Regions from separate parts of the Homo sapiens genome. Here all the other regions are linked to region 2. The links are contacts of gene promoters, found by promoter capture Hi-C in blood cells and fetal thymus (Javierre and others, 2016). All regions are on one chromosome and are shown on one strand. The core of a region is centred on a gene start or on the middle of the fragment in contact, and the rest is flanking DNA. Distances in the headings are between cores, read along the strand shown. Region 1 overlaps CCT2 (chaperonin containing TCP1 subunit 2). Region 2 holds the start of MDM2 (MDM2 proto-oncogene). Region 3 has its middle 4.6 kb from the start of IL22. Region 4 has its middle 3.5 kb from the start of YEATS4. Region 5 overlaps LOC105369818 (a long non-coding RNA gene). Region 6 has its middle 12 kb from the start of IL26. Region 7 overlaps IL26 (interleukin 26).

The links. Contacts are between HindIII fragments. The CHiCAGO score rates a contact against its expected background, and 5 or more counts as called.
Region 1: a fragment that was not itself captured here is called in contact with the fragment with the promoter of MDM2 in region 2 in 1 of 17 cell types (monocytes); the score reaches 6.6 in monocytes.
Region 3: a fragment that was not itself captured here is called in contact with the fragment with the promoter of MDM2 in region 2 in 1 of 17 cell types (megakaryocytes); the score reaches 6.2 in megakaryocytes.
Region 4: a fragment that was not itself captured here is called in contact with the fragment with the promoter of MDM2 in region 2 in 1 of 17 cell types (monocytes); the score reaches 5.2 in monocytes.
Region 5: a fragment that was not itself captured here is called in contact with the fragment with the promoter of MDM2 in region 2 in 3 of 17 cell types (naive CD4 T cells, non-activated CD4 T cells and fetal thymus); the score reaches 6.2 in naive CD4 T cells.
Region 6: a fragment that was not itself captured here is called in contact with the fragment with the promoter of MDM2 in region 2 in 6 of 17 cell types (megakaryocytes, fetal thymus, naive CD4 T cells and 3 more); the score reaches 8.7 in megakaryocytes.
Region 7: a fragment that was not itself captured here is called in contact with the fragment with the promoter of MDM2 in region 2 in 3 of 17 cell types (megakaryocytes, erythroblasts and M1 macrophages); the score reaches 11.1 in megakaryocytes.

Annotation. Positions count from the first base shown.
Region 1 is chr12:69,588,848-69,592,645 of GRCh38, forward strand. CCT2 (chaperonin containing TCP1 subunit 2) reads left to right here. Exons shown (of 16, transcript NM_006431.3): 7 at 638-840; 8 at 3,212-3,312. Among named protein-coding and RNA genes, the nearest start is that of CCT2, 5.3 kb to the left of the region's middle. The HindIII fragment of the contact is 2,196 bases long and covers 866-3,061 here.
Region 2 is chr12:68,806,874-68,810,581 of GRCh38, forward strand. It overlaps MDM2 (MDM2 proto-oncogene), which reads left to right and starts at 1,304. Exons shown (of 11, transcript NM_002392.6): 1 at 1,304-1,618; 2 at 2,335-2,419. The coding sequence starts at 1,605. RefSeq lists a silencer at 1,002-1,391 and enhancers at 1,593-2,792, 1,892-2,281. The HindIII fragment of the contact is 7,204 bases long and covers 1-3,708 here.
Region 3 is chr12:68,256,308-68,260,171 of GRCh38, forward strand. No RefSeq gene overlaps it. Among named protein-coding and RNA genes, the nearest start is that of IL22, 4.6 kb to the left of the region's middle. The HindIII fragment of the contact is 1,098 bases long and covers 1,706-2,803 here.
Region 4 is chr12:69,354,243-69,358,305 of GRCh38, forward strand. No RefSeq gene overlaps it. Among named protein-coding and RNA genes, the nearest start is that of YEATS4, 3.5 kb to the right of the region's middle. The HindIII fragment of the contact is 2,584 bases long and covers 420-3,003 here.
Region 5 is chr12:68,188,692-68,192,563 of GRCh38, forward strand. The region is part of intron 1 of LOC105369818 (a long non-coding RNA gene); the gene reads left to right. Among named protein-coding and RNA genes, the nearest start is that of IFNG, 31 kb to the left of the region's middle. The HindIII fragment of the contact is 1,833 bases long and covers 579-2,411 here.
Region 6 is chr12:68,236,071-68,240,166 of GRCh38, forward strand. No RefSeq gene overlaps it. Among named protein-coding and RNA genes, the nearest start is that of IL26, 12 kb to the left of the region's middle. The HindIII fragment of the contact is 6,281 bases long and covers 1-4,096 here.
Region 7 is chr12:68,215,024-68,219,135 of GRCh38, forward strand. All of the region lies in intron 3 of IL26 (interleukin 26), which reads right to left. Among named protein-coding and RNA genes, the nearest start is that of IL26, 8.7 kb to the right of the region's middle. The HindIII fragment of the contact is 700 bases long and covers 2,322-3,021 here.

The DNA of each region.
Region 1 (3,798 bases), core at 714-3,213, 780 kb after region 2:
GGGACCACTGTTTTAAGGCACTTCTATTTATTTGCCCATTCACAACTGTATAATAATACTTGTTTTTCACGTCCTTTTATTTATTTATTTATTTTGAGACGGAGTCTCGCTCTTAGAGTTGCCCAGAATGGAGTGCAGTGGCACGACTTCGGCTGACTGCAACCTCTGCCTCCCGGGTTCAAGCGATTCTCTTGCCTCAGCCTCCCAAGTAGCAGGGACTACAGGCATGTGCCATCATAGCCAGCTAATTTTGTATTTTTAGTGTAGATGGGGTTTCACCATGTTGCTCAGGCTGGTCTTGAACTGACCTCAAGTGATCCATCCTCCTCAGTCTCCCAAAGTGCTAGGATTACAGGCGTGAGCCACTGTGCCCGGCCATTTCTCACATTCTTGCCAACATTAGACTTTTGCATGCTTGTGTGGCCCCCACCCCTCTTTTTTTTTTGGCATTTTGCCAGTTTGGTGGGGAAAATAACATCTTTAATTTGTGTTTCTTGATTACTGCTGAGGTTTAATTCTTTTCATATAGCTTACAGACTTGATCAGTTAGGGTAAAATTATCTATTGACATGAATATCTAGATAAATTTTGAAAAGTAAAGTAGGGTTAATATGTATATTTGGTTGGTTTTATTTAGTTCCGATGAAGTTAAATTCCGTCAAGATTTAATGAATATTGCGGGCACAACATTATCCTCAAAACTTCTTACTCATCACAAAGACCACTTTACAAAGTTAGCTGTAGAAGCAGTTCTCAGACTGAAAGGCTCTGGCAACCTGGAGGCAATTCATATTATCAAGAAGCTAGGAGGAAGTTTGGCAGATTCCTATTTAGATGAAGGTATGTATGAATGTCAGATACAAGAAGCTTTGATTAGATGCTGAGGGCTGAATACTGAGTGAATTCTGTTTTGAGACCAGTGACCCTTTACAAAGCCAGTGAACTTGAATTTAAGGACATATCATATGTGCAACCATTTTTGTCATTTTATTGACAGTGTACTCCTCTTCCCGCGCTATTCCAGCATTGTTGATGATCTCTAGAGTTTACTTAACTACCATGAAGTTATTTGCAGTCTCTGATAAAGAGGAAATGTTTTCTTTTACTAGAAATCATCTATTCTCAAATGGTACTTTTACCAGGATTATATGTATTCTCCAGGAAGGGTCTGGGTCAGTCAAATCATTGTGTTAGCTGGTTGTTGAGGATGTACAGTTGACCATTGAACAACATGGGTTTGAATTATGTAGGTTCACAATGCAGGTTTTTTCAATAAATATAGTCAGCCCTTTGTGTCCGTGGTTTGCACATGTGCAACCGAACGTGGATGGAAAATGCAGTATTTGCAGGATTTGAAACCCATGTATATAGTGGGCCAGCTTTTCAAATCTGCTGGTTCCAGTCAGCCTGGAACTTAAGTATGTGGGGATTTTGGTGTATGTGGGCGTCTTGGAACCAGTCCCCTTCGTATACTGGGGGATGACTAGTTTTTTTTAGAAAAGAATTAAAAAAAATTTCTTTAACAAATAATTATGTATGTTTATAGGGCAAGAGGATCTAGTTCTTAAAGAGTGATAAATGAGACATAATAAGTACTGCTTTCTTAGTAGTACATTTTTGTTTAGAGTGAAGTTTTCCAGATCATCTTCACATTATATTTACTTCACAAAATGGCCTGTCAAAAAGTATAGGCATTCTTATATAGAGAAGGAAAAAAAAAGAATTAGATGGTGCTTTACAACTTCTGTTTTTACCAGTGGTTTGGAGTCCTGGTTTTGTTCTGTGTCATAGGTCTTGATTTATTTTAAGAGAGAGTCATAATTCTGAAAATACTCTTGATTAAGTTTATATACAAGAGCTGTGTAGCATTTCTTTTTTTTTTTTTTTGAGACGGAGTCTGGCTGTGTCACCCAGGCTGGAGTGCAGCAGTATGATCTCGCCTCACTGCAACCACTGCCTCCTGAGTTAAGGCGATTCTCCTGCCTCAGCCTCCTGAGTAGGTGGGATTACAGGCGTGTGCCACCATGCCTGGCTAACTTTTTTGTATTTTTAGTAGAGACGGGGTATCGCCATGTTGACCAGGCTGGTCTCGAACTCCTGACCTAAGGGGATCCACCTGCCTCAGCCTCCCAAAGTACTGGGATTACAGGCGTGAGCCACCATGCCTGGCCGCTGCGTAGCATTTCTGATAGGGGCTGGTGGTAGGGAAGGAGCATTAAAACAAGAATATTAGTAGCACAAGCAGCACCATTCTTGAATGTCTGCTCTGTACTAGGAATTGTAATAGGAACTTTAGTCATTTAGTCATCATGACCTGGTGAGTGAGGATTAGGTTCACTTGAATAGAGTAGAAAACCCAAGATAATGGTGGCTTCATAATGGAAAAGTTTCTAATGTAACCAAAAAAAGGCCTAGAAAGGTAGGTGGTACTGGGTTTGTATGATGGTTCCAAAGCAGCAGGACTAGGCTGGTAACTAGCACCTCTGCTACTGGTTACATTCCTGTTTTACAAATTAGCATTTCTGGTTGGATAATTTGTCGAAGGTTATATAGCCAGCAGCAGGGGCATGATCAGGGTCAGATTTATCTGACTCCACGGTGTCCATGGTTTTTCCATTTTTACCACCAGCCTCAATACCTGAATCTTCAATTTTTCTCTTGTGGTGGTGATTTTAAGCTAATAAAAATATAGGACTTAACCTATTGTCTTTATATTGCAACCCATACAGATGTGGGTGTAGCGTATATCTGAAACAAAAGTTTCAAAATACTGTTTAATTTTATTGTCTGTACTGTGCTCTTATATTTTCTGTTTCATATTTTTTAAGTAACCCATTAAATTGATTTTGTAATAACTCTTCTAGTGGGATGCTTTATACCAGAAGTGTCCAAGGAAGAGAATACAGTCATGGGTTCCTAGTTTCTGTTTCTGGTTGGGTCGGTAAAGCCCCTTCCTCCTCCCTCTTTTCTGCTTATCACTAGAGACAGAAACTAAAATCCATGGCTTTCAGGCGCTAAAAGCCTAAAAGCAAAACAACAACAGAATAAGGCAGGTTGGACAAGCTTGCTTTTATGCCTTCTAAGAGCTTGGTAAATTGGACTTAAATAGCTTCTTTGAAACAGTGATATGATAAAGCAGACAGCTTTTTATAAGATTTACTAAGGCTGCTTTGAAGTATTAAATATGATACTGTTCTTATATTTATTGTAGGCTTCCTGTTGGATAAAAAAATTGGAGTAAATCAACCAAAACGAATTGAAAATGCTAAAATTCTTATTGCAAATACTGGTATGGATACAGACAAAATAAAGGTATGTAACTCTACTTTTTAAAAATTAAAATTACTGCCCAGGCAGAGTGGCTCATGCCTGTAATCCTAGCAATTTGGGAGGCCAAGGTGGTGGATCATCTGAGATCAGAAGTTTGAGACCAGCCTGACCAACATGGAGAAACCCTGTCTCTACTAAAAAAAAAAAAATACAAAATTAGCTGGGCATGGTGGCGCATGCCTGTAATCCCAGCTATTCGGGAGGCTGAGGCAGGAGAATCACTTGAACCCAGGAGGCGGAGGTTGCACTGAGCCGAGATTGTGCTACTGCACTCGAGCCTGGGCAACAAGAGTGAAACTCCGTCTCAAAAGTCTCAAAAAAAAAAAAATTGCTGGATTCTATAAACTCAGGAATCAATTGCACTAAAAAGCTTGGAATAGGTATGAATCTATTGTGTATATACACATATATATACGTTGGTAAAAATGTTGAAATATGCTATGGGACTCTTTAAAAAGAGTAATGAGG
Region 2 (3,708 bases), core at 54-2,553:
GATTATCTTTTTAAAAGCCACATATTAAATCTCTTAAGTTAATAATATTGGCAATCAACTTAAATCAACTGAGTGACCACTATGTTTAAGGAAGTTTCCTTTCTGGTAGGCTGGGAAGCGGGAGAAGGGAAGGATATAACTTTATAAAAAAAAAAAAGCTGCAGAAGGGAAGGATATAACTTTATAAAAAAAGGTCCTTGTTCACAAGGAGCTAATCACTTACTGGCCAGAGAAGAAACGTGTTCCTTCTTTGCAATGGCTGTGTTTTTGGGTTTAGCTAACTCAATTCTTTATGTCCTCAATTTATGAGACCGCATCAAAAACGTTTTTGCCACATCTCTGTGGGAAAGTAGGTGAGTCAGAATGAGTGCATAATATATAAGTATATATTTTAATGATAATGAATGTGTAGATTAACAAACCCAAACTTTGTTTTTGTTTTTTTGAGAGTCTTGCCCTGTCGCCCAGGCTGGAGTGCAATGGCATGATCTTGGCTCACTGCAGCCTCTGCCTCCCGGGTTCACAGGATTGTCCTGCCTCAGCCTCCGGAGTAGAGTAGCTGGGATTACAGGTGACCGCCACCACGCCCGACTAATTTTTGTAGTTTTTAGTAGAGACGGCGTTTCCCATGTTGGCCAGGTTGGTCTTGAACTCCTGACCTCAAGTGATCCACCCGCCTCGGCCTACCCAAAGTGATGGGATTACAAGCGTGAGCCACCGCGCCCAGCCAAACCCAAACATTCTAAAAGCGCAGAGTAACCGCTCCCCTCCCCGCCAACGGTAACCAGCATCTTCGTTCTCCAACCAGAACAGCTGTATGCACCGGTGTATAAGCCTGCCTTAAGTGCTATTTTTAATCTTTTTTAAAAACAGGCCTTAAAATAACTCATTTGGGTACAACTCCAGCGGCTGGTGGAGTGGGCTTAATATATTAAACAGCTGTTAATTTTGGTTTCTTTTTGGTAACAGCGACACGGAGATCCGCATTTGTCGCAGTTTCCACCGCGGGCGGGAAGTGTAAACACAAGAAATACAAACATAGCGCAACGGCTAAAGGAGTGTCACAGCGCCAAACCTTGCTGGCTCCGCGCCAGGCCGAGCCCCACCCTCTCAGCTCGCGGCCAACACCCCCACCCCGCCTCACAGCCCGCCGCGCCCGCGGGGCGACACCCCCCACTCCATCATCCCGGAGGTGGTGCGGCCGAGCCCCGGACCCAATTGGCGGAAGCGGGGCCGGTTGTGTGCGCGCGCACAAATGCCCGGATGCGCCGCGACGACCCGCGCGCTCCCCTCGGGCGGTAGGGGGCGCGCACCGAGGCACCGCGGCGAGCTTGGCTGCTTCTGGGGCCTGTGTGGCCCTGTGTGTCGGAAAGATGGAGCAAGAAGCCGAGCCCGAGGGGCGGCCGCGACCCCTCTGACCGAGATCCTGCTGCTTTCGCAGCCAGGAGCACCGTCCCTCCCCGGATTAGTGCGTACGAGCGCCCAGTGCCCTGGCCCGGAGAGTGGAATGATCCCCGAGGCCCAGGGCGTCGTGCTTCCGCGCGCCCCGTGAAGGAAACTGGGGAGTCTTGAGGGACCCCCGACTCCAAGCGCGAAAACCCCGGATGGTGAGGAGCAGGTACTGGCCCGGCAGCGAGCGGTCACTTTTGGGTCTGGGCTCTGACGGTGTCCCCTCTATCGCTGGTTCCCAGCCTCTGCCCGTTCGCAGCCTTTGTGCGGTTCGTGGCTGGGGGCTCGGGGCGCGGGGCGCGGGGCATGGGGCACGTGGCTTTGCGGAGGTTTTGTTGGACTGGGGCTAGGCAGTCGCCGCCAGGGAGGAGGGCGGGATTTCGGACGGCTCTCGCGGCGGTGGGGGTGGGGGTGGTTCGGAGGTCTCCGCGGGAGTTCAGGGTAAAGGTCACGGGGGCCGGGGGCTGCGGGGCCGCTTCGGCGCGGGAGGTCCGGATGATCGCAGGTGCCTGTCGGGTCACTAGTGTGAACGCTGCGCGTAGTCTGGGCGGGATTGGGCCGGTTCAGTGGGCAGGTTGACTCAGCTTTTCCTCTTGAGCTGGTCAAGTTCAGACACGTTCCGAAACTGCAGTAAAAGGAGTTAAGTCCTGACTTGTCTCCAGCTGGGGCTATTTAAACCATGCATTTTCCCAGCTGTGTTCAGTGGCGATTGGAGGGTAGACCTGTGGGCACGGACGCACGCCACTTTTTCTCTGCTGATCCAGGTAAGCACCGACTTGCTTGTAGCTTTAGTTTTAACTGTTGTTTATGTTCTTTATATATGATGTATTTTCCACAGATGTTTCATGATTTCCAGTTTTCATCGTGTCTTTTTTTTCCTTGTAGGCAAATGTGCAATACCAACATGTCTGTACCTACTGATGGTGCTGTAACCACCTCACAGATTCCAGCTTCGGAACAAGAGACCCTGGTTAGTATTTTTGTCTCGTGTAACTTTTAAGAATAATTTATTTTATGAAGTGATAAACTAAATTTCGTATACCTCAATTGTAGCATGGCTCTGTAAATAAAATTGTATGTGCATAGCTTAAAGTGTGCTACCTCTGGCGTAACTGCGTGGAGTTAAAAACTGTTAAGAACTGGTCAGTATTTTTTTAGCCATTTGCCACATTTGCTTTAAAAATTAGTTCCATTACATTGTTAAGCGTGGTTGAAGTTACGTTTGTTACGTGACTGATTTTTTTTTCCTTTTTGACCTCCCAGTATTTAATTTTTAAAAATGGTTTCTAAAAGTCAAAAAAGTTATTCGTGCTTGTTTTAAAGATTTTTGTCATTAGAGAAATTTTAAAGTAAAACCTGAAAATTCCAGGCTTTTTGCTCCATGTTTCCTTTTAGATTTTTTGTGTGCGTACCCACATATATTTACATTTGAATTTAAATCTATGTTATTGTCCTGTTTGTTGTACTAACAAGATGAAACTGTAGTTGTTCTGTGACTTGCATCCTTGTCAATAAATAAAGTCTACAGAATTCTTTTTAATGGCTGCATAGTATTCCACAGCATGAGTATACCATTTTAAAAATTATTTATGCCTTTACTGATAGGTTTTTAAAAATTGCCTCCTGTTTTTGAGTATTACAGATAGTGCCGCTTTGTACATGCATCCCGTGTGACTATTTCTGTAAGAAAGATTTTATAGAATTATAGGCTGGCCTCGGTGGCTCACCCCTGTAATCCCATCACTTTGGGAGGCCAAGGCGGACCGATCACCTGAGATGAGGAGTTCAAGACTAGCCTGGCCAACATGGTGAAAACCTGTCTCTACTAAAAATACAAAAATTAGTCGGGCATGGTGGCGCGCGCCTATAATCCCCTGCTGAGGAGGCTGGGGCAGGAGAATCGCTTGAACCCAGGAGGCAGAGGTTGCGGTGAGCCAAGATTGCGCCATTTCACTCCAGCCTGGGCGATAAGAGCGAAACTCCGTCTAAAAAAAAAAAAAAGAAAAGAAAAAGATTTTAGAGAATTAGAACTCCTGAGTTCTCAATTTTACTATTTGATTGCTACTGGTAACTTGCTCACCAAAAGGCTCTAACAGTTTCACTCCTGCCAATACTGAATATCACCAATCTTTAATTATTATTATTATTATTTTTTTTGAGGCGGAGTCTTGCTCTGTCTCCCAGGCTGGAGTGCAGTGGCACAATCTCGGCTCACTGCAATCTCCGTTCCCCGGGTTCACGCCATTCCCCTGCCTCAGC
Region 3 (3,864 bases), core at 1,005-3,504, 550 kb before region 2:
TTACGGTATTTCTAAAGTTGATGTTTGACCCAGTCCTGCTTACCAGCTTATTGTTCCTGAATAGAAAATAAATCACTGTGAAACAGAAAGAGAATGTCAGAAAATTGCAAAGCCCTCTTTAAGAGCAGCAGTGTGTCTCTTATTCATTGTATGCCCCTGATGGACCAAGCATCAAGAAGATAGTGTTAATGGAGCCTAGATCTTAAGTTTCAATGAGTTTAACTAAAACTCACTAAAGGGAAAATCTGCTCTGGTGTTGTATGGGGGTTTCTGAACAGTCATACTAGGAGTCTCAGAAATATTTGCTATTAGAAGAGATTGTGAGGCTGGGCGCAGTGGCTCACGCCTATAATCCCAGCACTTTGGGAGGCTGAGGTGGGCAGATCACCTGAGGTCAGGAGTTTGAGACTAGTCTGGCCAACATGGTGAAACCCTGTCTCTACTAAAAATACAAAAATTAGCCGGGGGTGGTGGTGCACCTATAGTCCCAGCTACTCGGGAGGCTAAGGTGGGAGAATCGCTTGAACCCAGGAGGCTGAGGTTGCAGTGAGACAACATCACCGCACTGTGCTATAGTCTGGGTGATAGAGCAAGATTCTGTCTCAAAAAAAAAAATGGAAGAGATTGTGGGTATAACAAAAAGGTGATCCTGTGAAAACAGCAACCAGAGACATATGTATGCTAAATACTTTCAGATTATAATGGGCCTTTTCTGCAGTTGTTTCCTTGTGAATTTTCAAGTCTCTCCCAAAGCCACCGCAGATGAAGAGCAACCCCAAAGCCCACCTCCCAGGTCCCAGACAGACCATACCCATGGTTGATTTGGAATATGTAACAATTTACCTGATCTAATGCCAAGAAGGACTAATCAGAATCCTCAACCAGAAGTAGGCTTTGGCTGTCTCATTCACTATACTGTGCCTAGCACATGGAACAGTGCCTGGCATATAGTGGCAAAATAAATATTCATTGATCACATACATAAAATAGTTTCCCAACTCATTGACTGATGCTAGAAAATCCATGACTGGAAATGCATTCTTTAAGACACAAATCTCCCTAGAAGAAAGAAGACTTCTGGTATCACAGGTAAAAAGATTTGTACTCATCATACTCTTCAGTCCAGTGCACATGATCATTGTTCCATACAAGTTTCTGTGTGTGTGTGTGCACACGTGCGTGGGTGTGATCCTACCCTCATCATTCTCCTTCCCTCCCCACTAAACACCTACCACCACCTCTACCATTGCCATAGGTCATGGCTCTAATGTTTCATGTGTATTTCTGAATATCGATGCATCCCTGTGCAAAAAGAAGTGTTGTTTAGTGTGTGTAGGTATTTTTATTTTACAGGAATGGCTCTCTTTCTTACCTTTTTACTGAGCATGATGTCTTACCATCTGTCCATGTTTCTTTGTGTAGCCTCTGCTTGTAATGTGACATTCCAGAGTGTGTACCGACCACATCTTACTTATTCATTCTCCAACAGTGGGCACCTGAACTGCCTCCAATTGCCCAGACCACAGACATTGTAGCTCTAAACACCCTTAACCAAGTCATTTTTATGGTATTTTTTGAGAGTATTTTTGACATAATTTTTGAAGTATGTCCACTAAGTCATAAGGATAAGTTTATTAGCATTTACTAAATATTGCCAGATTGCTCTCCAGAAAGAGTGTTAATCTACTCTCACACCAGCAAATAAAGCTTCCTCTGTTTCCTTAAATCCCCCTCCACACTTCGTATGATCCAGCTTTAACTTGGCCAGGCTTTGGAGGTTTAAAATGGTATCTATCTTGTTACTGTTTTAATTTACATTTTTCTTCATACACTAGTAGCCACTCGGGTTTCCACCTTTTATACATTGGTTACTTACATTAGTCACTCATTTTTCTAGCGGGCTTTGCTCTTTTTCTGTTGTTGATTTGTAAGAGTTCCCTGTATATTTTTGGTTGTAGCCATAACAAACTCTCCTCCTTTTGTTTTGTTTTTGTTTTTGTTTTTTTTGAGACGGAGTCTCGCTCTGTCACCCAAGCTGGAGGGCAGTGGTGCAATCTCAGCTCACTGCAACCTCCACCTCCTCAGTTCAAGCAACTCTCCCACCTCAATCTCCCAAGTAGCTGGGATTACAGGCATCCGCCACCATGCCTGGCTAATTTTTAGTAGAGATGGGGTTTCATCATATTGGCCAAGCTGGTCTCGAACTCCTGACCTCAAGAGATCCACCCACCTTGGCCTCCCAAAGTGCTGGATTACAGGCATGAGCCACCACACCTGACCTTCTCCCAATTTTTTATCTGTCAATTCACTTTGTTTATTTGGCCTTTGTTGAACAGCAAGACTTAATTTGGATGTCATCTAAGACATTATTTATAATTATATGATTTGCACTTTTCAAGGTTTGTTTGAAAAGCCTCTCTCCATCCCAAGGTCACAAAGACATTCTTCTATCTCGTCTTCTATTTATTCTATGGCTTAACCTTTCACAATCAGGTCTTTAATGCATTTTTGTATGTGATGAAAGGTAAGAAATCCAACTTTATTCTTCTCCACATAGTGAGCCAGTTTTCCCAACATAGTCCACTAAACAATGTCTTTTATCATATGTGAATTTCCCATACATAGAAATATATATCTGAGTCCTCTTTTTTGTTCCATTGGTTTATTTATTTTTCTTTTTGTTCTTAAGCCAGTCATTACTGAAGAGTGTCTTTAAAACTGAACAGGAAATTTTACGTTTTTTGCTCTACTTTTTCAGGGCTGACTTAGCTATTCGTGGACTTTTCATATATATTTTATATAAAGCTTATGATAAATTTGTCAAGTTCCTGGAAAAATATGGCAGAAATTTTTACTAGGTTTTTATTTAATGTAAAGACCAGTTTAAGGAGAATTAACATCTTTGTAATGTGAACTCATTACATCCAAGAGTATCGACCATGTCTCTGCCAAAGACCTTCTTTTATACCCTTTTGCTAGTCTTTCAAAAATTTTTTCACTGAGGTCTTGTGTATAAGATTTAATTCCTACTTACTTCATGGGAGAAGTAAGATGCGAAGCTGTTATTAGTCACATTTACCTTGGTGTGAATAAGTACCCAGCTGGCTTGGAGAAAGGGATTATTCAATTACTCATCTCCTGAGAACACGAAGAGCAAGTGATTCACAGCCAGTGAGGAGAAGAGGTTAGAGGTACAGCAAAAAACAAAAGCTAGAGACTGGGGTTTTCAAACATAAACTGCATTTACTTCCCACTTCTGCTCTAAGGTAACCCTGGTGGTACCCAGAGTAACTTCCTACCAGTCCCACCTCACCTGCCACAATCTGCCCACAAAGACACTTGTCAACCATAGCCACCTTTCCCTTCTTCCTGGGGACTGAGTCTTCTCAGTCAGTATTATATCTCATCTTAAAGAGAAGACTCTATCCACAGGAATGTGTCATAATGTAAACGAGCATGTTTTTCTCCCTACTAATGCTAAGTACTGAAATCAACTTAAAAGATAGAGGAAGGCAACATTTATGGAAATTCTTCACTACTCTAGTGCAAACAGAATTTGATATTAGCTTCCTAACATCTGCCCTCTACTGTCATAGATTTTTTGAAGACCACAGGTACATCCCAGTCTCTCTTTTCATTTATTATTTTGGCGAGTAAATAGGTGTAAAGAGTCATAACCCACACTTGCTTCTGCCACCAGAGATTCAAAACACAATTAATTTACTAATATCGGTGAATATTTTATCCCAGTTCTCTAATCAGTTTTAGAGTTATTAACATTTTTCACATTTTGCAGACGCTACATATTATTTTAAAACATAACTTTTAAAAATTCATATTCAAAACTCCGTGATTCTTGGTGTT
Region 4 (4,063 bases), core at 462-2,961, 550 kb after region 2:
CTGTTTTTATTTAGACTCCTATAGTGTCTCTGAAGAAAAGAATACAGATATTTGAAAAAATATGATTTGGTGCTCTTAATATCTCTTATATCGTCACTTACCTCACTTAAATAGTCAGATATTGCTGGAGAAAAATTCACAAGCATGCTGACAGGTCTCACTTTAAATTCATAACCATAAATCTCAAATGAGCCCTCAAGTCTGCCTGACCATTTTAGTTACTTCTCTACAATCCTTCCATTTTTATGTCCCTAGTCTCCAAAATGACTGTTACTATTTTACTTTTCCTCTTCTCTCTTCAAAGCCTCAAGACACACATTCAGCCTCCTCCTCTGCCCCCTTATCCTCCACCCTCCTCTGCTCTCAGCAGATAACCTGGCCTCATATTACACTTCTAAAACAAAAGCAACTTCATACCAAGCTTTCCCTTCTACATCCCAAAGCAGCAGTCATACCTTCCCACAGGCCCATCCTTCCTTCCTTCCCTCCTATTATCAGGATGAAGAGCCTCTGCTCCTGCCAACAGCACTGACTCCACATGCAGTTTCCCTCCCATCCCTCTCACTACTCCAAGTCAGGCTGTTTCCTGCATCCCTAGTTTGTCCCTTTTAGCTGGATCACCTCCATCATTCTACAGTCTGCCCTAGTAACCTTCCATCTTACAACAAATACTCCACTGACCCTACATAATCCTCCAACTGCAACTCCATTCTCTGCTCCCTTTACAGCAAGACTTCTGGGGAAGTATGTCTGTACTTACCAACTCCATGACCTCACCTCCCAGTGTCTTTTCAACCCTCTCTAATCTGGCTTCTATCCTCACCCAGCTGAAACTGCTCCTCCAGGATTTCTCCCATGATTCCTCAGTGCTAATTCCAGTGATCATCTTGTTCATCTCAGCAGCATTTGACAAAGTGAACCGCTTCATACTTTTAGCAGTTTTTTAATCCCTTGGCTTTTCCTTATTTACATCCTACCTCACTGACTGTTCTTTCTCAGTCCTTCTTGCTCACTCTTTCTCTGCTATTTAATTTCTAAATGTGAGAGTGCCTCAGGGCTCAAGTCTATAATAATTTTATATACTACATATTTTACTTATTTGTCTCTTCTCACCAAAATATAACTTCCAAAATGACAGAGGTTTTTCCACTTTTTAAAAAAACATTGAAATAAACTCAATCTTTTAAAAAATATAAAAGTACTGTACAAAGATCTTTTATTTTTCAGAACTGTTTTGAGAGTAAATAGCCAACATGATACCCAATGGCCCTGATTACATCAGTGTGTAATTCCTATAAAGACATTCTCCTGCATAAAACCTCAAAACAATTATCCAAATTAGGAAATTAACACTGATACATTACTACCACCTAGTCATCAGATTCCACTCAATTTCATCGATTGTCCCAATAAGACCTTCATAACAAAAGCATCTAATTCAGAATCATATTGTATTTGGTTGTCATGTTTTTTAAGTCTCTTTGAATCTGGATTATTTCCTCAGTTGTTTCTTTCTGGACTTTTTATGACCTTGCCACTTTTGAAGACCACAGACTAGTTATGTTATAGAATGTACCTAAGGTTTTTCTGGTGTTCTCTCGATTCCATTAAGTTATGCATCTTTGGTAGGAATACCACAGAAGTGATGTTCTCACTGCATCCTTTCAGGTGGCATTCAGTTTTTGCAGTTTTGATTTGCCCCATTATTGATGATGTTCACTTGGATCACTTGATTAAGGTGAGGCCTGCAAGCCATCTTCACTGTAAAGTATTTGGGGAGGAGGTGCCTTGAGACTACTGCTCATCAAATTTTCAGTTTGTTTGTTTATTTATTTAGAGGCAGGATTTCACTCTGTCGCCTAGGCTGGAGTGCAGTGGCGCGATCTCAGCTCACTGCAACCTCTGCCTCCCAGGCTTATGCAATCCTCCCGCGTCAGCCTCCTGAGTAGCTGGGACTACTCGCACGCGTTACCATGCCTGGCTAATTTTTGTATTTTTAGTAGAGATGGGGTTTTGCCATGTTGCCCAGGCTTGTCTGGAACTCCTGAGCTCAAGCAATCTGCCTGCCTTGGCCTCCCAGGTGCTGGATTACAGGTGTGAACCACCGTGCCTGGTCATGCATTTATTTATTATATCAGTATGGACCCATGGCTTCTATTTTATTCAAATCATAAGGAGTTATAGTCCATTACTATTATTTATTTTGATGTTCACACTGTCCTCGATTTGGCCAGTGAGCCCCTGCAAGTTGTCTTCTGTGCCATTTCGACATATTTCCATCATTCTTCAAGCACTTTCTTGTTTTCTGGCACAAGATATTCTAAGGCTCACCTTGTTCCTTCCTTGCTTCCAAAAATGGAAAAGGCATTTCTCCAAGGAGCCCTGATTCCTCAAAGTGCATAATAGTATTAAAAAAACAGGATCTGGGCACTAGGGTATCACTGTTTCCAGGCCCTATCAGTGAACAGAGCTGGAAGATATATGTATTTACACTATATTTATCTCTATATCTATCTATTTATATTGAAAATCATGAATCCACACCAATATCTCCAATTCTAATCTCACACCACAGGATTCACTCTAGTTTTCTTCTTTCGCATGTTTTAACTCTCTTCTCTGACAGTAAGTAACTTAGCATCCATTATACTCATTATCCTTAAAATGTATCCTTAGTACATTTACGTATTTGATGGGTTTGCCTGTATGTAACCAATTCCCCAACTCTGCCCAAGTGCTCTCCACTCAGGCTCTGACATCCCTCAGTGGGTTGCTTCCTTCCCCAACACCTGGACACCCTCCTTACCATGATACATCTCTGATTTTATAATATGCTGAACCACTGTCCTGATAGGAAGAATAGAAATTTTTCACTCATTCCACTTCTGTATTCTAAACACCTAGAAGAGTGACTGGAACATGGTACATGCTCAATCAATATCAGTTGATCGAATAAATCTCTTGCTGATTATTTAGTATGTTCCCTCCAAACTGAACATTCTAAGCTTTTTGTTTTTGAGACGGAGTCTCGCTCTGTCACCCAGGCTGGACTGCAGTGGCGCGATCTCAGCTCACTGCAACGTCCGCCTCCTGGGTTCAAGCGATTCTCCTGCCTCAGCCTCCCGAGTAGTTGGGACTACAGGTACTCGCCACCACGCCTAGCTCATTTTTGTATTTTTAGTAGAGAGGGGGTTTCACCATGTCAGGAGATCGATCTCCTGACCTCGTAATCCGCCCGCCTTGGCCTCCCAAAGTGCTGGGATTACAGGCGCGAGCCACCGCGCCCAGCCTTTTTTTTTTTTTTTTTTTTTTTTTAATTAACTCTTCAAGGCCACATGATTCCAGTACAACCGCTTGCGGGGTTCCAAGCCACTTCTTGGCTATGTAAATGCAGCACATAGACTAGCCATGTGAGGGCAGCAGAGGGCCACTACATAGGTGCAACCTTTGGCTTCAAAATTCTTGGACCATTCTGACGTGATTAAACTAAAAACGAATGAGTTTATGCATATCGAGATACCCTGAGGTGTACAAAGGATGAGTCAAGGTAGCGGAGAGAGAGTTGAAGAGTGACAGCTGAGAAACAGAGATAGGACATGTCCAAGAAGTGCCAGGATAACCCAACAACACAGGCTGATTGAGGAAACTGCCAGAGATTAGACAAAGTAGACTGAAGAGGGAAAGCAATGTTTGTTGGAGATTTTGCTTTAGTTTTTGATAAATATTTCTTAGTCATACCAATTGTTTTAAATATAATTACGCCCCCAAACCAAATTTCTACTCTTATTCTGGCAACAGAATAAAAATCAATATCAATGTTTGATCATTTTCAAAGAAACTCAGTTCCTATCTTGGTTGAAATGCAGTGACATCCATATGACAATTGAGCTCTTCATGTGGCACTAATATAACTAAGCCCTGAGCACATCCCTTGCACTTCTATTTAGTGAAGTCTTTTAAAAAGTATTTTCTTTACAGTTGTTAAGTGGAATTACTAAAAATTACAATCAGCAGTATTTTCTACTCTTTTAGCTTATTTTTTAAAATATTTATCTCCATGCTT
Region 5 (3,872 bases), core at 245-2,744, 620 kb before region 2:
GGAAGAAGTGAATATGACCCATGCTCACACACCAACATGCCTATAGCCAGGAGGAAATATGAGAGCTAGGAGGGAATTTAGGAGTCTCTGAATTGAAAGTATTCGTTTCAGTGAGGAGGAAACTGAAGTTTAGAGACGTAGAATAAACTTATTGTAAGAGGAACCTATGTAATATGTCTTAGAAAGCTCTCTTTCAAAATCATTATCCAAAAAGGAAAGAATGGGCCACTTAAAGGAGTATTGATTTATTAATCGGGAAATTTGCTTATGGAAAATAGGCAAAACTTGCTTCGAAATGCTTATCACAATCCACCTAAAATTTCTGTTGGCAGCATCATTATCTGTAGCTGCTTCAGTGGTGACACTAATAAATTCACATTACAGAATAGTAGTAAAGGATTTATTTTTCTTTTACATTTTATATTATGGTCACCAATTGTGAGCTCTGAAGTAAAATGTCCTGTTACATGACAAATTTAAAACAATACATTTTAGAATTTACCTTGACAACACTCTCAGAGAAGATTATTTTAGAAACTATTGATAAATTAAAAATCTAAGTGAATTATATGCCTAAAAGCTTTCTTTTAAGTGATACTTGAGGGGAAAAAAACGTCATCCCAACATTTTTAGACATTGAACTTTACAAGTGTAGAAATGGTCACAGAAAGCCTATGTTATTCTGAAATATATTTTGTTTCAGCTATGTTTGTGAAAATTGACCAGCTACTTGACAAATCTAGATTTTCTTAAAGGCACTCAACTAAATGCTATTGTCTCCTAGGACTTGTCTTGGCCATTTTGATTATCATAACTCTCCAATATAGGCTTTAGGATTTCCAAATTCATACTCTGAAGCCCAAAATTATTCCCACTATAATTTAGAGTTAGCCTTTGAAATAACTTATAGAAAGCATTAATTGATTCCATATCTAGGGGCCTTCTGAGTTGTTTATAACTTATATATATCTACATATATATTTATTGATAAAATTTTATTTTTAATATAATTTACAACCAGATTTCTCTTACAAAAAAGATTCAATCTATTTTAAAAGTATGATAATCAATTATATTATATAATTTGTGCCACAATTCATACTTATCTATTGATTTAGAAACCACATTCAAGATAATCCTCTCTACCAAGAATTGGCCCCCAGCGTAGCAGCAAAGCACCATTAACTATCATTTCCACCGACAGCTGAAGTTGTGGTTTTGCATTCAGCACTTTTTTCCTTGTGTGGAGTATAGAACAAAAGATGTTACTAATGTAATAATGTGAGTCATCATCCAAATCTGTGGTTACTACTACCATGAAAAGTTTTCTTTCTCAGTAGGAAAGTGTCATTGGTCATTCCCAAGATGTTACAGATGAACAGAAAAAAAGTGAATATCGTTGGCACTTCCATTTTATCTAGGAAATAAAACTGAGTTCCTCACTTGTGGGTAAAGGCAAGTCACTGTGGTGACACACCATGTTTTTTCAGTAGATGAGGTGAGCAGGAAGCAGCAATCTGAGATGTCTCTTCAGTGCATTTCACACTTACGACATTCACTTTGTTTCAATAAATACAAATAGCAAACATAAAAATTATTATCTATATATACTTATTAAAATCTCTTCTAATCTCCTCCAAACATATTTATCATATCAGCATTTTGCTTCCTTAAATGTTTTTCTTATTCTTTGAAGAGAAATCCAGTAGTTGTTGTTTTTCTTCTTCTTCATTAATAATACACTTTTCTAGCTCTGCTTCATCTCAAGATAACCATTTGTGTGAACTGGTGTTTTCCAAACTGTTTTCTAGGTAACAAGGCATTTGATCTGACTAAGTGCCTACAAGGCCAATGTATTCTTGGAAGAAACAATCTTCTAGAAACTCATATTAAACAAAGTTAAAGAGTTGTTTTAATGTGGAACTTCTCCAACCTGTAACATTCTGATGGGCTTTATAATTCCCCATACAGAAAATATAGTTTGCACCATTTTCTTAAACTTGTTAAATAAGAAAACACTTTTGTAAGTTTAAAACAGGAAAACTAATATGTTGAGGAAATACTATATATTCCATGCAATAGAGTGAGAAAAGCTGATTTCAGTCACACATTTGTTTCTTTCTTATGGGCAAAGTACACCATTACTTTGTGGTTAGTGCTTGCTGTTATGTCCAAGGCATCTATATTATTATGATGACCAGATATTCATGGTTTGGTGCCAACTTCAATTATGTGGTCCCATTGTCCCTCTGAGCATGTTAGAACTTTTCAGAGTTTGCTGCCCAATTTTTCATTCAGAAAATATATTCTCTGCATATATGGATAAATAATTTGGTAAATCAAAAGAACATAATCTTCCATAGTTAAGAAGTTGTTTCTGCCATTTGTTAAAAGTAACCAGATAACTAAGAAGCTTACCTGAGAGAAAATAAGGCACAACAGGTGAATCAGAGAATTGTAAAATCTTCTAGATCATGGCTTTAACTTCTTTCATGATAATTATGTGATGCTACTAAAAATATTTAACATCCCCAAGCCTGTTTCTACATCCACATAAATTACAAAACCAAAATCAATAATCTTTTTACTCTCTACTCCTTAGTCATTGTAAGGATCCTTCAGGTCTGTGCAAAAATGTCACCTCATTGGTGAGCTTTTTCCTGACCAGCCCTTTTTTTTTTTTTTTTCGGAGACAGAGTCTCCTCTATCACCCAGGCTGTAGTGCAGTGGTGTGATCTCAGCTCACTGCAAGCTCCGCCTCCCAGATTCACGCCATTCTCCTGCCTCAGCCTCCCAAGTAGCTGGGACTACAGGTGCCTGCCACCACACCCGGCTAATTTTTTTGTATTTTTAGTAGAGACAGGGTTTCACAGTGTTAGCCAGGATGGTCTCAATCTCCTGACCTCGTGATCCACCCACCTCAGCCTCCCAAAGTGCTGGGATTACAGGAATGAGCCACTGTGCCCAGCTCTGATCAGCCTTTTTTTTAAGAGCAAACCAGTCCCCGCCCTTCCCCAGTCCCTGAAACCCCCCCACTCCTGCTTGTTTGTTCTTGTTATTCTGACATCCTTTATGTTTACTCCTTTGTTTATTTCTGTGTCCCCCTATCAAGAATGGTATGTTCACCTGTTTAACGTTTAGGACAGAGCCTGACACTTAATAAGTAAAACAAATAAATCTTTGTTGGCTAAATGAGTAAAATACACAATGTAGTAAAATTTGAGGAAACACTTGGAAAGCTATATCAGAATAAAACAGCAGAACCGTAAATAGTTTCCACAAAATCAGGTACATAGAGAAAGCTCAGCATGTATTTATAGGTAATCTTCAATCACACTGGGAAATTAACCAAAAGGGAATATTCATTGTGGGCTACAGTGGCCATGCAAGACTTAGTAGAGCAGAGGAGATCATGAAGAAAATATATAATTTATCTTGAAATAAAAGAGTAGAGAAGACATAGCAGATGGACAATCTGGCACACAGAAGGACATGAAAGCAGAAATAAGCTTGTCTCGTGTTGGGGGCTTTTTAAAAAAATAGACTGATCTTGAAGGAGGCATACATGTCAAAGGGTAATGAGAGATGGATTTTTAAACTTATTCAGTCATTTATTTGACAAACTCTTGTTGAACACCTACTATATGCTGAATTTTAGGTTAGGATTGATGAGAGTAAAAGGCCAGATAAGGACTCCCTGAATGTCAGGCTAACGAGTGAGAAAATGCTCATGCTGCCTCATGGGATTATTTTAAGGGTTAAGAAAACAGTGCACCCAAAGTGCCCCATAGGCCATTTTGCTCTATGATAATATAATCTGTATCATTACCCAGCTGGTGATTGGTCTGGTGAAAACAACACGTTAGGCCATG
Region 6 (4,096 bases), core at 10-2,509, 570 kb before region 2:
GAATGAACATATGAGACATATTTGACCAAACAGATTATGAGGGGATTTCTGCCTATAGGGCAGGTCCATTTGGAGGGAGGGCAAATCAGCATCTCCCTGGGCTCCCCGCCTGGGGAGAGGGAGAGGAGCTTGGTCGCGGTGCACCTTATTTTTCATTTCTGAGTATCATTAAAATTCAATTTAAACAATTATTCTTCCAGCCAAGATGGAAGTGATTTAATTTCTCCATGAGGATAGGTGTACTTCTCATTTTAAGGACAAGGAATTTTCCATGCAAAGGTTCTGGGGCAGTGAAGAGCAGATCACATGCACTCTGTAGACAAGCCCCATTGGAACAACCTTCTGAAGATGAAAGCCTGGAGAGTTTGGCAAAACCATGGGAAGAAAGCTCAAGATGATTCAACCATGGCTTTAAACCGCAGGGTTCCTAGCAGCCTTCACATGTCAGCAATTATCAATAAAAGCAATCCAACTAGGCTGTAGTTGGGTCTCCTACAGTTTGAGTGTTCCCTTTGAGGGAACACCTCTTGTCTGGCTGTGTCAGAAACAACTTAATTGCTGTGTATTTAGTTTTTTGAATGGATTTTACTCCACACCATCAGTGGCACCAGCTTTCGTATCATTCCTGTGAGCACCTGGTGGTGGGAAGTTTTCATGAGTATCAGCTGCCTAAACTCACCAAAGAGAAAGTGAAAGTACACAGCGTTGATGGAATTGTCATATCAGCCTGTAGCAGGTTAGGGGCTGAGGCCCGGTATGAGCCCAAATCCTGTTAGTCCACCAAGCTCCCTTTGCATAAGTCCCATCAAGAACTGCGTTTCCAGGGACTAGAAATAGAAAACTGAAGAGAATTAATGTTACCAGCTACTGGCCGTTTCCCACTGCATTGCCCACACAAGCTGTGCTCTAGCCACACGGACTTGTGGCCCTCGCCTGAGCACTCTATCCACTTTCACATCCCCAACTCTTTGCTCATCTGGGTCCTTGGGTCCAGAAAGCCATTCAATCCTTTGTGTATCCATCTCAAGCATTTACTGAGCACCTATAAAGTGCCAGGCATTTTCAGGGTATAGGGGCTTAAATGTAGGCAACAGTTTCTGTCCTTAAAAATTCTCAAGATAGACACATAACAAGGGATTAAACTACAGTGTGATAAATGCTAAGAGAGATGTAAATTATACCTTGAGAGCCCTGAAGATGGAGCAATTAACTACGGCTGGATTGCAAAGGGGAAGAAAAAAGGGAAATTTCACAGTGTTGTCATTTGAACCCATTTAAATCCTTCTTGTCCTCCAAAAGATCAGCTTAAATGCAACCTTCGGTGCCTTCCCAATGATGATTGTCATCTTGTTGGTGCCTCACTGGTAGCACATGTCAGTCCACTTGTGCCCTAGGCTGTTGCATGCCTGTCTTCCTCGCAAGACAACTGCAGACTCCTTCAGGGCAGCATCCAAATAAAATCTGACCTTGTGTTTTCAAAGCCCATCCCACAGGATCTTGTATATCCTATGATCTAAAAAATCGTTTAGGAACTAAATTGAATTGAAATTTCTAAGGCTTTCACTGAGACAAGCAGCAATGTAAGAGTTCTAAAATTCCTGGGCAGTTACTGTGCTTAAAAATAGCATCTGTGGCGATGGCAAGATGAAAATGTCACAGATGAAAGAACAGCTCACAAAAGCACCTCACAGCCTGTGAATTTCAAAAAGAAACAGTGCCTACTGGTAAGGACTCAGCTGGTCAATTTCTAGGTGCTATAGAGATTAAACTGCACACACATGGCTAACATAAGATTCAAGATGCAGAGAATGAACCCAGATGGTTAAGCCCCATAGAAACAATGAAGGGACTGTGACTAATAGAAACACGTTGGGTCACCCTGAATATTTTTAGTAGCTGTAACAAGAAAAGAGGAGGAAGATGGGCCACACACAACAGAATCAGCCAAAATGCAAGGTTAAGAGGAGTCAGAATTATTCCAGTGAAAGAATCTCTCATCCTGTAGCTTGCATAGTAGCCCAAATTAAACAAAGATTCCTATGAATGCCCTTGGATGCTGCAGAGAGGGAAGAGCAAACACAGAAAGGAGCAAGGGCACTCCTGGGACTGAGGGGCAGAAGGGAATTTTAGGCTCCTGTAGGCGATAGTGCACATTGGCCTCAGCACCTCTACTTCTTTGTGGAGAAAACTGTTGGAGAAACAGGAAAACAAAATATTAAACAGTATTTAAATTTTAGAAATCAAAATACTGTTGTTTCCAAGTTTGTTTTGTTACAGGATCAAAAATTTACACACGACTCAGACACACCCAAAATTGGTTTTATTTATTGTCCATAAATGATTTCACCTAAATTCCCAGACTCCATCCTGCTGCTGGGTGGGAGTTGGGGAGGGGCGGGAAATGGAAGGGGGAAGAAGAGTAAATAGGGCAGAGTCCCAGTAGAAAATGTATGCTACGTTCAAACTGGGGAATGGATAAGAGTTTAATAATAGATTGATTTTCTTAAGGCATTGTGTTAGTGTGTGCTGCTATAACAAAATACCACAGACCAGATAATTTATAAAGAACAGACATTTATTTCTCACAGTTCTGGAGGCTGGGAAGTCCAAGATCAGGGTGCCAGCAGGTTTGGTGTTTGGTGAGGGCTGGCTCTCTCTCTGCTTCCAAGATGGCGCCTTGTTGTTCATTCTCCAGAGAAGACGAATGCTGTGTCCTCACAGGGTGAAGGTGGAATGGAAAAAAAAGGGCCTAACGCTGTGTGGAGTTTCTTTTAAAAGGGTCTGAATCCCATTCAGGAGGGAGAACCCCTCATGACTTAATCACCTCCTAAAGGTCCCACATCTTAATACTATTGCATTGGAGATAAAGTTTCAACATGAATCTTGGAGGGAACACAAACATTCAAACCATAACAGGTGTGGAAAGAGCTCAAGGAAACCAACAAGAAATAGTGCAATTCCCTGAGACTAACAACAGCTAGCTGGCTGTTGAAGTAAGGGTTGAGAGTGGTTTTCAGAACTAACAAAGATATCTATATGGAGAAGGGCTGTCTGCAAGAGCTGAGGCTTTTGGTAGAAGTACATAGCCAACCAGCATGGCAGCCTGGCAGGAGAGCTCCAAGGGATTAGATACTCTGACCTTATCCTCCCCACCCCCCAGCCCACCCTTCGATCTCCCGGTACTTCTTCCATTAGCCAAATACAATCAAAAGCCAGGGAGCTTGCATGTATATGAACCAATCCATATACGTCAGCCTCTTTGGGCACCAAGTAGAGTGGAAAAGTACAGAATATGGATCTGGAGGGCCAGATGGACACCTTGCATCCCTTGTGTCTTCAGCATCCACTCTTATCTTTATCCAGGTGAAAAATGTGTATTGGCAGCCTAGGAAACATATAGAATCTCATCAGCTACCATATCATTATAGGATGATGTCATTGTGGTCATATTCCCACCTGAAAACAAAAATATTAGCCACCACAAGTACTCTTCAAATAAAAGGGAGGAAAGGAGGGGAGAAGACAAACAATGAACAGAAATCCTATCTGCTACAGCTCCTGCTTTTATAGCAATTCGAAAGACCCAAGTTAACAAGTGTGGATTCTTTCTTCCACCACCGCTTTATTTTTCCCTTACCCTCTGCCTGTACCACAGTAGAATGGAGTCCTTTGCCTGGTAAAGTGACTTAAACCCTCATTCCCATAGAAACGGAATGCTTAATGATTCTGTCTCTTCTGAGTTGATGCAATTTTCCAATGAAAATACTCCTGAACAAGGGGCTGTTACAAGAAAAATCCAGTGAATCTCCTCGGTTCAGGCAGAAGATAAATTCACTGAGGCTGTGTTTGCCTCCGAGACAAGAGGACTTCAGCCTTCAACCCTTGGTATTACTTCATTCTCCTCATCTAAGTGTCTTCACTCAAATCTTAAAAACTTCCTTTCAGAAAAAATCACCTGTCTTCCTTCAATTCCTATACGGAGCACTTTCTGCTAGTGAATAATATAGTATAAATGAAGAACCAGAAGAAACACTAAAGAATTTCTTTTCCTGTTTGTGAATGTGATTCATACATAACTCCTATTTCCCAGGCAACC
Region 7 (4,112 bases), core at 1,422-3,921, 590 kb before region 2:
GTTACCACGAGGCTTACAAAAAAACCTCTTATAAATATAACGAGTTATTTCAAACAGATGACAACTTATATTTGATCAAAATAAAAAGGGACTAGAAACAAACCAAGGAAAAACTTTTAAAAACTATACTTTAACTCCATCCCCCAACACACACACATTTTGACTTTTTGTTGAGGCAGGTATAGGTATCCTACCCAGGAGCTCAAGATGATGGGAAAGCTGATTGTCCACCTCAATCCCACGTTTTCCAGTGTAGTAATTGTGAGTTGGGAGAAAATTTTCCCTGTGCTTGGTGCCTGGCAGATTGGGGGAGGGGCATTGTGGATGTAAAATTCCAATTCTGTTACTATCTGCCCAAAATTTTTTCACTTCTCTGAGGCCTCAGGAACTGTCTTATCCTCATATATTAGCATTCTGGGATATTGCTGGTGATAATCATAGTGCTGTGTATTTGTTTTTGGTTTTCAGGATGCAGAAGAAGGGATAGTGAAGCCAGCTTGCTTTTTCTCCGTCATTTTTCATGCCTCACAATTTTGACAGAGAAATTATGTATCATTAACCAAGAAATGAATTTGTCAGCAAAACAATTCAATAACATAATTAGAAAATACCTTTACCAAAGTTAAAACCAATTACTCATAATTTATTTATCTTTTTTTCTTGAGACAGAATCTCCCTCTGTTGCTGAGGCTGGAGAGCAGTGGTGCAATCTTGACGCATTGCAATCTCAGCCTCCTGGGTTCAAGTAATCCTCGTGCCTCAGCCTCCTGAGTAGCTGGGATTATAGGCATGCACCCCATATCCAGATAACTTTTTATTTTTATTTTTATTTTTGTTTTTAGTAGAGACAGGGTTTCACTATGTTGGCCAGGCTGGTCTCAAACTTCTGGCCTCAAGTGATCTGCCCACCTCAGCCTCCCAAAGTGCTGGGATTACAGGCATGAGCCACCATGCTCAGCCTATTTATCTTTAAATTAAACTACTGCTGGCCAGGCGTGGTGGCTCACGCCTGTAATCCCAGCACTTTGGGAGGCTGAGGTGGATGGATCACAAGGTCAGAAGATCGAGACCATCCTGGCCAACATGGTGAAACCCCATCTCTACTAAAATACAAAAAATTAGCCAGGCATGCTGGCACACGCCTGTAGTCCCAACTACACAGGAGGCTGAGGCAGGGGAATCGCTTGAACCCAGGAGGTGGAGGTTGCAGTGAGCCAAGATTGCACCACTGCACTCCAGCCTGACAACACAGCAAGACTCCGTCTCATAAAAAAATAAATAAGCTACTACTATAAATTATACACATTATACAATATAATACTAATTTTAAGCACTAAAAAAGTATCTGATTACTTAAGAGAACCACTCCTTCGTAAATTGTTGAGAAAATGTAATTGGAATAAAAATTAATGTTCTGTGCATGAAAAGCAATAAAGGAAGCACTAACAATTCTGCAGAACTACTACATGCTAGGTACTTAATTCTCCCAACGACCTTAAGATGAGGCTACTGTTATTGAAGACACAGGTTTTAGACTTTGCAGCTGATAAAAGAATAAGACAGGATTGGTCTCACTCTTGCTTTATCAGTTCAACCAGTTGCAATTTTTACAATTTTAAATTACAGGGATGAATGAATGGTATTATTTTACAAGTTGATAAGCTATTTGCAATTGATGATACAAGTTACTTATTAAACAGTCTACAAAAAATGGAAACACAATATTCTGTTTGCCAATTTTTGCCAGACTTTAAAATTAATTACATGCAACCGACATGAAGAAATGTGTCTCTCTAAATACCAATTACTGTTCAGGCTCTCAAAATGTTAATTAAAGTAGACGATGAAATCTTAAAAACTAACAGAAATTATTTTCATTTCTATTTTGATCACTAGCAATTAGGTAAATTATTTTATGAATCCAATAAGGTGACTGCTAAATTCTCTTTCAAGTCTGAGAGTATTTGAGTTCTGTAAGAATCTCTAAAATGTCTTCTTACATAAACAATTTTCCAAATATTATGGCTAGGAAAGAGTATAAACATAAAGAAGTTTACATTACACATAACTTATTTTTTGAACAATTATACTATCTGACTTACCCAAATCAAACTAATTGGAAAATATATTTTATTAGGTGCTGCAAAATGCTTAGAATGTCACCAGAAGCAATGAGAGGATGTCCAAATACAGTGGTACTGGGAATTCCAGTCCTTGGAGTCTATCATGATAATTTGTCATGCTGTTTTATCTTAAGAGTGGCTCAAGAAAACGGACTTGCAAGGAAGCCCAAAAGGCAGGTACCTTAGAGAAATCAGATAAGCTTCACAAAAATAAGAAATAATTTCATGAGTTAATAATGAAACAGAGAAAATGACAACAAAATTAATAATTCATTGGTCATTATGGGAGAAAATCAGAAAACCAACCACTTATGTTGAAAGCTAGCAAATAAAGGAAGATAATTAAGTATTTAACCTGGCTTTCTTATATGATAAGTTCCTCAGAACATCCAAATAGGAGTAGATTCTATTTATTGAATTATCCCAGCTTATGAGTAAAGAAGATAAAATAGAATTTAAAAATTATTATTTTGTAGTGCCTTATGAATTAACGGATCTAGACAATAATTGTCAGGGGTTGTTATCATCGTAAAAATAAAGATCATACATCATGTGACCCAGTGAAAGCAAACAATGCTACCTATAAAGTGTTCTAGCTAAAACATCAAGCTAAATCTGATCAAGTCTCTCTGTATAATTGTTAATGTATGGTAAATAAAGAGGAGAATATATTAAATGACACTATGAAAATGCAGTCAGAAAATACAGACTATGAGAAACTCTGTGAGACAAATGGCCGAATGTCCTGAACAAATACATTTCAAAAAGGAGGAAGAGAAGGAAAAGAAGAAAGGAAAGCAAAATCATAGGAAATATGGTAGAGTTTACAGAAATGTGTTGCTTCAATGAGTGGCAAAAACAGCACTAGACTAAACAATACTTTGGTCCTGCCTAACAAAGCTTAAACAACAAGATCTGAAAAGATCAAACTGTTTGCAACTAATTTAACTGTGTCCCAGAAGAAAACTCAAGAATATTTACAGAAATATAAAAATGTCTAGGATCCAACAAGGTAAAATTCATAATATTTGACATTTGATCAAAATTACCAGCCGTGCAAAGATGCTGTAAAATATGACCCATAACGAGGGAAAAAAATCAATCAATTGAAACCAACCCAGAGTGGACACAAATGTTACAATTAATCAATAAGGATATTTTAAAAGTTGCTATAACTCTATTCCATATGTTCTAGAAGTTAGAGAAAGACTGATCATGTTCAATAGAGCAATGGAAAATATTAAAAAGACTCAATTCAAACTTCTAGAGATAAAAACTACAATGTATGAGGTGAAAAATATTCTGAATGGGACTAACAGATAGGCACTACAAAAGAAACGATTAGTGATCTTGAAGATGTAGCAATAGAAACTATTCACAATGAAACACAGAAAAGACTGGGAAAAAACAACCCACAGAATCAGTGAGCTGTGGGACAACTACAAATGGGCTAATATATGTGTAATTAGCATTCCAAGAGGAGAAGAGACAGAAGGAGATACAGAAAAAAGTTTTTGAATAAATAATGCTGAACAATTTCAAATTTGATGAAAACTATATACTCACAAATACAAGATTCCCAATCAACTCCAAGCACAAGAAGCCTGAAGAAAACTACATCAATTCACATCATAATCAAATTGCTTAAAACAAGTAATAATGAGAAAAATAAAAGGCACGAATATGTTATGAGTAAAAGGATGGAAAAAGACATAGCACACTAACATCAATCAAAAGAAAGCTGGAGTGATTCTATTAGCATCAAAAAAGAAGTGGATTTCAGGACAAAGAATATTATTAGGGACAATAAGGGTAATTTTATAATGATAAATGTGTCAATTCATCAAGAGAATATAACAATCATAAACATTTCTGTACCTAATAACAGAAATTCAAAATACATGAAGCAATATCTGATAGAACTTCAAGAAGCAACAGAAGTTCACAATTAATGTCAGAGATACCAATAATTGATAAAACAAGTAGAAA